Regions from separate parts of the Homo sapiens genome. Here region 1 is linked to region 2. Evidence: promoter capture Hi-C in 16 types of primary human blood cells and fetal thymus (Javierre and others, 2016). All regions are on one chromosome and are shown on one strand. Each heading gives the region's core, a stretch centred on a gene start or on the middle of the fragment in contact. The rest is flanking DNA. Distances are from core to core; before and after follow the strand shown. Region 1 overlaps LOC101929976 (a long non-coding RNA gene). Region 2 holds the start of FRZB (frizzled related protein).

Region 1 (4,096 bases), core at 276-2,775, 200 kb after region 2:
TATAGCATTTTTACTTAACACCATCATCCCTTAATGACCTGCACCTGGCAACCTTCATGTGCTCCAAATGGGCCCGTGTGTGGCCCATGTTCCCATGGGATGCTCCGAGGGCTCAGATGTTCCTAATAGACAAGGAATGAATCTCTGGGTTGGCCACTCCCGGATTCCTTAGCTCAGAACGCACACGCAGGTGCGTCTGCCATATGGGAGCATTTTCAGGGTATGCTTATGTCATTGCTATCAGGGTGTTTACCATACACATGGCGTAAAAGGTGGATTCAAAGGAGAGAGTTAAGAAGTGTGGGAACCACCTATGATAAGGCAGTCAAGAGCTGTGCGAATAGAATGTAAAATACAAGGGATTATAAACAGAATTAATGACGAAAATATGAGTGATGGGGAGTTCATTAAAAATCTTTAATCAGGAAGATGGGAAAGAAATAACATGCTTAATAGGGAAAAATAGCGAAGGTTGCTGTTTTAAAGAAGGGTGAGATCTTAACAAAAGGTAAAGTCAGAGAAGAGACTGAAAATAGAAAACAAAACAAACTTCCAACTTTTAATACATGGAAACTATAGCAAAATTCAACAAATTTTCCTTGACTGGTGGGAATATTTGTTAAAAGATGGGTTAAAAACCCACATCTGGGAACAGTCTTTGACTTTGTCAAAACAATAATTCCCATCACTTTAATTAAGCAACACCTGACCCTACTGGGCTATTGTATTAAAAGTCACACCTAACAAACAAAATGGGCCAAAACAAGTAGTATTCCTTTGTTTTGAGGAATGATCTTTGGAGTCCTGTAAATAGTGTGTCTGGGGTGAGTGAAGGGTCAGTACACTTAATCTTGCCTTATTAAAGGTTATTTGGTCTTTTCAGTCTAGAATAGCTTCTTTGGGGGAAACAGTTAATTCAAAGTTCAACCTTCCTGAAAGGCTGTTTCTCTCCTCTATCAAAGGCCTCTTGAAAGGAAAATGGATATGCTGTGGTCAAGAATAGGCCAAGATAAACATCCAGTACAGCATGATGAGTGGGATTGGAGCACAGGTGCACAGTCCCATGCATTATGTAACCTGTTTGTTAAGCTCATACTTGGCTCTGAGCCACTGTTGTCTGTAAGGAGTGTAACTGCCCTGCTGCCACCGGCTCGCACGAGGCAGGAGAGAGAGAGAGAGTAAAGCTGCTGACTCTGTAAGAGAGAGCCAGAGCTAACCACCTTGCAGGCAGACAGTGGGGAGCCAGGAAATGGTGAGTGCTCCAGGGAGTGCAGCTGTATGCGTTGGGGCAGCAGGAGCCGAAGAGCTGGCTGCTGAGAAGGGCTGTGGCAGGAGCAGGCAGCCGAGACAAAGGCTTGTGCCCAGAGAGAGAATAAAGCCATATTTCACCTGACTGCAGCCCCCTGAGTGTTCTTTCAACTACCTACCAGTCATCCACCAACTCCCCCTTGAACCTCAGTTTGGGCTCAAACCTGACATCTCTCTTCCATTTCCTCCATTTCTAGAGACTGTCTAGGGGTATGCATGTGTGTGTGGCTTACAGTTACTCTTGGTGGCCTCTATTGGTTTTTTTTGCCTTTTTTTCGGTCTCATGCTAGTCTCCACTGAAGTGAAGTTGATTGGTCTGGTCTAATCTTGCAGAGGTATGCTTATAACACTCATCTGTAAGTGCCCTCTGCCTAAGTCCATGGTTCCTACCATTTGTCACTGTTGTGATGTGCCTGCCCCATATCTCCTGTCTTGACTGCAGATCTCTAGTTGTCCAGCATCCTTCTCAGAACCCCTACAAATCCTACGTCTCTGAGCCCTTGGGAATCATAAGTCAGCTGTGGAGAATTGGTGCTACCTCAGGCTACTCTTAAATACTCACTGCTCTCTGATCATGGACTAATACCTCTCAGCCATGCTATACTGAGAAGGACAGAGCAGCCTCCCAGATAATTTTGGATTCCTTCTCCACCCATTTAGGAATCTCTTTTCCCTTTGACTGAAGTCCATGGGTTGGGAAGGGTGTTGCATCTTCATCAGCACCATCCCACTTCCCTCCTTCAATCCTTTCCCTTAGCAGACTCTAATATCTCTGGTGGGACTTCCTTGATATTATATCTCAAGTATTCTTTACACTATGGCTTCTAATAAAGCCCTATTTTCAGATCCCAAGGGTTTACTTTTCATTTGAAAGAAAGAGATTTTGGAACTTATAAAATCTCTCATTTTGGGTTGCAGTTTTGGAAGTTGAACATTGACATTGTTCTGTCTTTTCCAGATATAGCAATTCTAATCCCTCTGTGACAGAATCTCTTCTGTTTGGACTGTTGACTCACAAAGCCTAAAATATTTACAATCTGGTCCTTTACAGAAAATGTTTGTTGACTTCACATGTGCAGAAAGGAATCTAAAAGTTTAGGACTCCAAAGACTTCGAACAGGAATGATTTGTTATATGGGTGCTGTGTCCCTCTACCCTCAACTGTATTGTCTGAGGAGACTCAGAGGATACTCCCTTGAAAGCAGTGAGAAACACATTAGTGAGGGGAACACCCACACTCTGAAGAGCACTGTAGTGGCTCTCATATGTAAGCCACATATGATGGTGGGAAATACCACCATTGTGATGGGTTCCCTGATTCCAATAGGGATGATGGGACCCTGAAAGAGCAGAGGCCAATGGACAATACTTAACTGCCAAAGATAAAGCAGCCATATTTGTTATAAAGGCTGGCAGATTCTGATTACTGTAAAGGTAATCAGACTATTTAGACCTGCAGGAATTTTTGGTAGTGACTAATTGACCATGTGGTTACCAGAAATGAAAATGATGAGCAGCCTACTAAAAAGCTGCTTAATTTATAAAACAGAAACTGCAGGTCTGGTGGCTAAAAACCTGACTTGAGCCACCTAGTGGAGAGTGATGGATTTCTACCTACTTTTTAGAGCTAAACCAGTTCACAGGTTAGAACCCCCTGATTCAAGGGGAGGCCAGGTTCTTTTGAAGAAGGATGCTACAGCAGAACCAAATATAGAATGTAAAATTTCCCCTGATTCTTTCCCAAAGGGTGACTTACTAGCAGGACTGTGCACTGGGAAAAAGGAAGTACCTAGACCGTGACTGTGTACTGGGAAAAAGGAAATACCCAGACTATTCAGATATTCCTAGACACTTAATATGAACTGATGCTATTCCTGGGCACTCCAAACCTGCTATACTGTACCAGTCAAATGGGAGCTTATGGTGGCCAGGTGATAGACAAAGGCTTAGATAGAGGTAGAAGTTAGCTGGTAATTTCTTCCCTGGTTCCTGAATGTAGAGTTGCAATAGACATACTTGGCAATTGGCAAAATCTCTGTTTCTTGCTACCTTGTCAAGCTTTACCCTTTTGAGTATGTTATTGTCTATAATTTTTTTTTTTTTTTGAGACAGAGTTTTACTGTTGTTTCCTAGGCTGGAGTGCAATGGCATGATCTCAGCTCACTGCAACCTCTGCCTCCCGGGTTCAAGCGATTCTCCTGCATCAGCCTCCTGAGTAGCTGGGATTACAGGCATGCGCCACCACACCCGGCTAATTTTGTATTGATGGGGTTTCACCATGTTGGTCAGGCTGGTCTCGAACTCCTGATCTCAGGTAATCCACCCACCTTGGCCTCCCAAAGTGCTGGGATTACAGACGTGAGCCACCACACCCAGCCCCTTGTCTATGATTTTTTAAAACATGTAGTAATCTTTAATTCGTTAAGCCAAATTTATGTGTGTTTATTAATTTAAGCATGTACATTTTTTGAGGGGTGATTTTTTAAAATTTAATTTTAATTTTAAGTTCTGGGTTACATGTGCAGGATGTGCAGGTTTGTTACTTAGGTAAGCATGTGACATGGTGGTTTGCTGCACCTATCAACCCATCACCTAGGAATTAAGCCTTGCATGCATTAGCTATTTATCCTGATGCTCTCCCTCCCTGCTGACAGGCCTCAGTGTATGTTGTTCACCTCCCTGTGTCCATGCGTTCTTATTGTTCAGCTCCTATTTATAAGTGAGAACATGGGGTGTTTCCTTTTCTGTTCCTGTGTTGGTTTGCTGAGAATGATGACTTCCAGCTCTA
Region 2 (3,926 bases), core at 492-2,991:
GGTGAGAGATGGCTAAATTGAAGCAGAGAAATATTTCAGTGATGCAGAGCAAAGGTGACTTCCTGTTTTGTTTCAGGTTTTGTTTCCTTCTCCTCTCAATGAAGGCTGTGTTTTCTGACATTCGGCAATCCTTTTGCTCAGTGATTTCCCATTGAGAGGGCATAGTGTGAAGGCCTCTGCAGGTCATTCCATTTACAATATAAGCTGAAAGGGTAGAGTGGGGCGGGGGTGGGGGGAAGAGGGAGCTCATTAGTGGAAGAAGCAGACCAGGAGGGGATCTGTTTTCCATTTTCTCCTCCAGATTGAACTCATCTGGATGGAAAGGTTTTGATTGTTGTTATAATCATCATTATTACCTGCGTGATGTCGTTTTCCTACACTTTTTTTTTAAGTGTCGGGCAGAATTGTTGCTGAGAATAACAAATAATATCTGCCATGTTATCCGTGAGCAAAATCAGAAAAAAAAAGTCCAAGTGTATTAGAGCTGTTAGTTTCCACGTTAACCCTTAAGGAGCAAAGCTCAAGAGTTCTAATTCCACTAGGTGGGGGGGGCGGGAATAGAAGGAAAAAACCCCTTTTCCTTGCTTCTGGTGGCCTATTTGTAGTCATGAACAGCATTTCTTTGTTTCTCTCTCTCTTTTTTTTTTTTTTTAAAGGCAATCCTCCCCCCACCTCCTCCCCCGCAGTTATTGAAAATGGAGACCTCTGTAGTCACTAGCTCTGGGTTGATATGGCTCCACCGTTGCTCGCAGGGGTCTGTGTTTTCCGCTACTTGGACAAAGTGACATTGCTTAAGCCTTTCCCCCCACCAGGTCTGACTTTCTGCAGAGCCAGTGATTGCAGAGGAAAAGCTGTAGTTTGCTTAAAGGAAATACCTCCAGGAAGGAGGGTCTCGGGTGGGTTCCCAAGTGGGGAACTAGGGGGACTTTTCCGTAGGGAATTGGGGTGGGCTCTTCAGTGAGGGGCTAGGGGCTCGTTTCTGGGGCCAAAGACGGGTTCCCTAGTGTGAGGGCGCGCTCGACTCGGCGCTGTCTTGGGGTCTCGCACTCGCACGGCTTCGCACCCCACCGCCTGCGACTCCCAGGCCTTCTCTTCCCCGGGCGCCCACTCCATTCTCGGGAAGAGCAGCCGGCACTGGAGGGCAGAGACTGCCCCAGGGGCGGAGCTCCCTCTCAGGCGGGAGGTAGGAAAGTGCAGAGCCGCCCGGGCAGAGGCACAGACGTCCCTGCGGGGCTCCTCCTGAGCGTCCCTCCTGCCAGCCAGGGTCGCAGCCGCAGCGGCGGCCGCAGCTCTTAGCCCACACAGGACTTGTAAACTCTTACTGCACCCTTCTCTCCCATTAGGAGCTTTTCCTCCCTCCTTCCCCCCAACCCCTCTGTCCTCCTCACTTTGGGGAATTTAATGCTTTCTTTAGCATCTTTTTGTGTGCGTGATCTAGGGGAGGAGACACCCCAGAGCTCCAACTAGCTCTCAGCTGAATTCTACTTTTGTTTTTATGTCTTCCTCGCCTCCTCTCGTGTCCCTCTTATCTGACTGATCTGCGAAGTCTGATGCTTCTGCCAGAGGGAGAGGAATAAATAGATGTTGCTGCTTCCGAAGGCTTAGACGTTGGGAAAGAGCAGCCTGGGCGGCAGGGGCGGTGGCTGGAGCTCGGTAAAGCTCGTGGGACCCCATTGGGGGAATTTGATCCAAGGAAGCGGTGATTGCCGGGGGAGGAGAAGCTCCCAGATCCTTGTGTCCACTTGCAGCGGGGGAGGCGGAGACGGCGGAGCGGGCCTTTTGGCGTCCACTGCGCGGCTGCACCCTGCCCCATCCTGCCGGGATCATGGTCTGCGGCAGCCCGGGAGGGATGCTGCTGCTGCGGGCCGGGCTGCTTGCCCTGGCTGCTCTCTGCCTGCTCCGGGTGCCCGGGGCTCGGGCTGCAGCCTGTGAGCCCGTCCGCATCCCCCTGTGCAAGTCCCTGCCCTGGAACATGACTAAGATGCCCAACCACCTGCACCACAGCACTCAGGCCAACGCCATCCTGGCCATCGAGCAGTTCGAAGGTCTGCTGGGCACCCACTGCAGCCCCGATCTGCTCTTCTTCCTCTGTGCCATGTACGCGCCCATCTGCACCATTGACTTCCAGCACGAGCCCATCAAGCCCTGTAAGTCTGTGTGCGAGCGGGCCCGGCAGGGCTGTGAGCCCATACTCATCAAGTACCGCCACTCGTGGCCGGAGAACCTGGCCTGCGAGGAGCTGCCAGTGTACGACAGGGGCGTGTGCATCTCTCCCGAGGCCATCGTTACTGCGGACGGAGCTGGTGAGTTTTGACACGGCCCACCCTTCCCTTACCCTACAGCCTCCTCAATTCTTGGAGTCCTTGTTACTAGCCTTTACTCTCTAATTTTTTTCTCTTCGGATCACTTAATCTCTCCCATAACTGCTCCTCTATCAAAGACCCTTCTTCTTCTTTCTTCTTTTTTCAAAAACAAAAACAAAAAAACCCTCACCTTATCACCTTCCAAACTGATGCACTCTGGCACTGTGTTCCAATAGGCGATCTTTCTAAAACAATCCATGCATTCCAAACCCATCACACTTCTACTCCACAGGAATCCTTCACTTCAACTCCTTACATGTGCAAGTAGCCACATTTTGTAAAGTGATGCTCTTTTTCTTTTAAAATGTGTTTATAATCATTGGGTTTTCTTTGCTGATTCTCAGGCAATCTCAGTCATCAGGTTTCTGTATCTTTAGTGTCTTAGATGCTTGTTAAGATTGTGTGGAGGAAACAGAAAACTGAAGCCCCATTTTCTTCTAATTAAAAATGCCAAGATAATTTCAATAACCTTACTCTAACCGACAGATGTTAGGGGTATGTGTTTGCTCAAGATCCAGTTTGAGCAATTACCTTCACCTTAAATTTCCCCCTCCTTTCAATGAGATAAATTGTTCTTCCATTCCAGAATGAAACAATTGTGAAACATTGCTATGCACTGTTAATTAGCTTCTGTGGCTTGCCATAGAGCTGGCAGACTGAAATTACTGAGCTCTTTTCACATGCCCACATGCCTTCAAGTCATTTTATAAGTGGCATACAGATGAAAGGAGTTATATTTAAGGCGTGTTATCATACACTCACGTAATGTTATTTTAAATCTCACCCCTTATTCCACTCTCATGTTTTGAAAAAAAAATTGTCTTTAATACCTTATTTCATGCTCCTTTTCCGTGTGTGCACCAACCACAGTCATTTCAGTCTTTCCCTACCATAAAACTTTATTGCAGCTCTAAATTTAATGGAGTCAATCACAAGTTGTTTTCTCACTAGTGTTTAGTCTAATTATGACATTTGTAACTTTAAGACCCCAACTAAACCTACTTCATTATGGTCCATTTAATTCTAACTCAGTATTACTTCTACCAACTAACCCAACCTCAAATTTTACCCTTCATATATTTTATAAAGAAGGCAATTTTTTTTCATGAGTGGTCCTCTTTCATACCACATCCCCCACCCCCCAACAACTCTGTTCTTAGATGTGTTGACTTGGTTGCCTCCATCTGTTTATTTCTTGGGCATCAACTTTCCTTCCTCTTTCAACTTGCGCAGTCTAGGCGCATGTCCCCAGTCCATTTCCAGGTAGTAATTCTTAGTTATCGGGAAATTGATTTGGAAAAATTACCTTCTGTGCACGTTGACTCATTTAACAAAGTGAGAGAAGGAGAAGTAATTGTAAAAATAGCTGAAGGAAAAAAAATAAACAGAAGAATTTCAAGAACTTTTTAATGGTGACCTCACTTAGTTTATCACTTTTTGAATATACCTATTGTCTTCTTGATTTTAATCAAGAACCAAAAGCTAGTTGTGCAAAATCATCACAGAAATGTATTTGCTATTAATCTTTGCTAAAAGAGCATGCTTGAGGCTTCGTACTCACTA

What was found. The method cuts DNA at HindIII sites, captures the fragments that hold promoters and counts their contacts. A CHiCAGO score of 5 or more calls a contact.
Region 1: a fragment that was not itself captured here is called in contact with the fragment with the promoter of FRZB in region 2 in 1 of 17 cell types (fetal thymus); the score reaches 5.3 in fetal thymus.

What each region holds. Positions count from the first base shown.
Region 1 is chr2:182,665,926-182,670,021 of GRCh38, reverse strand. LOC101929976 (a long non-coding RNA gene) reads left to right here. Exons shown (of 7, transcript XR_427200.3): 7 at 3,442-3,472. It also overlaps a transcript of PDE1A not described here. Among named protein-coding and RNA genes, the nearest start is that of DNAJC10, 48 kb to the left of the region's middle. The HindIII fragment of the contact is 3,687 bases long and covers 1-3,368 here.
Region 2 is chr2:182,864,452-182,868,377 of GRCh38, reverse strand. It overlaps FRZB (frizzled related protein), which reads left to right and starts at 1,741. Exons shown (of 6, transcript NM_001463.4): 1 at 1,741-2,303. The coding sequence starts at 1,826. RefSeq lists an enhancer at 1,610-2,578. The HindIII fragment of the contact is 6,424 bases long and covers 1-3,926 here.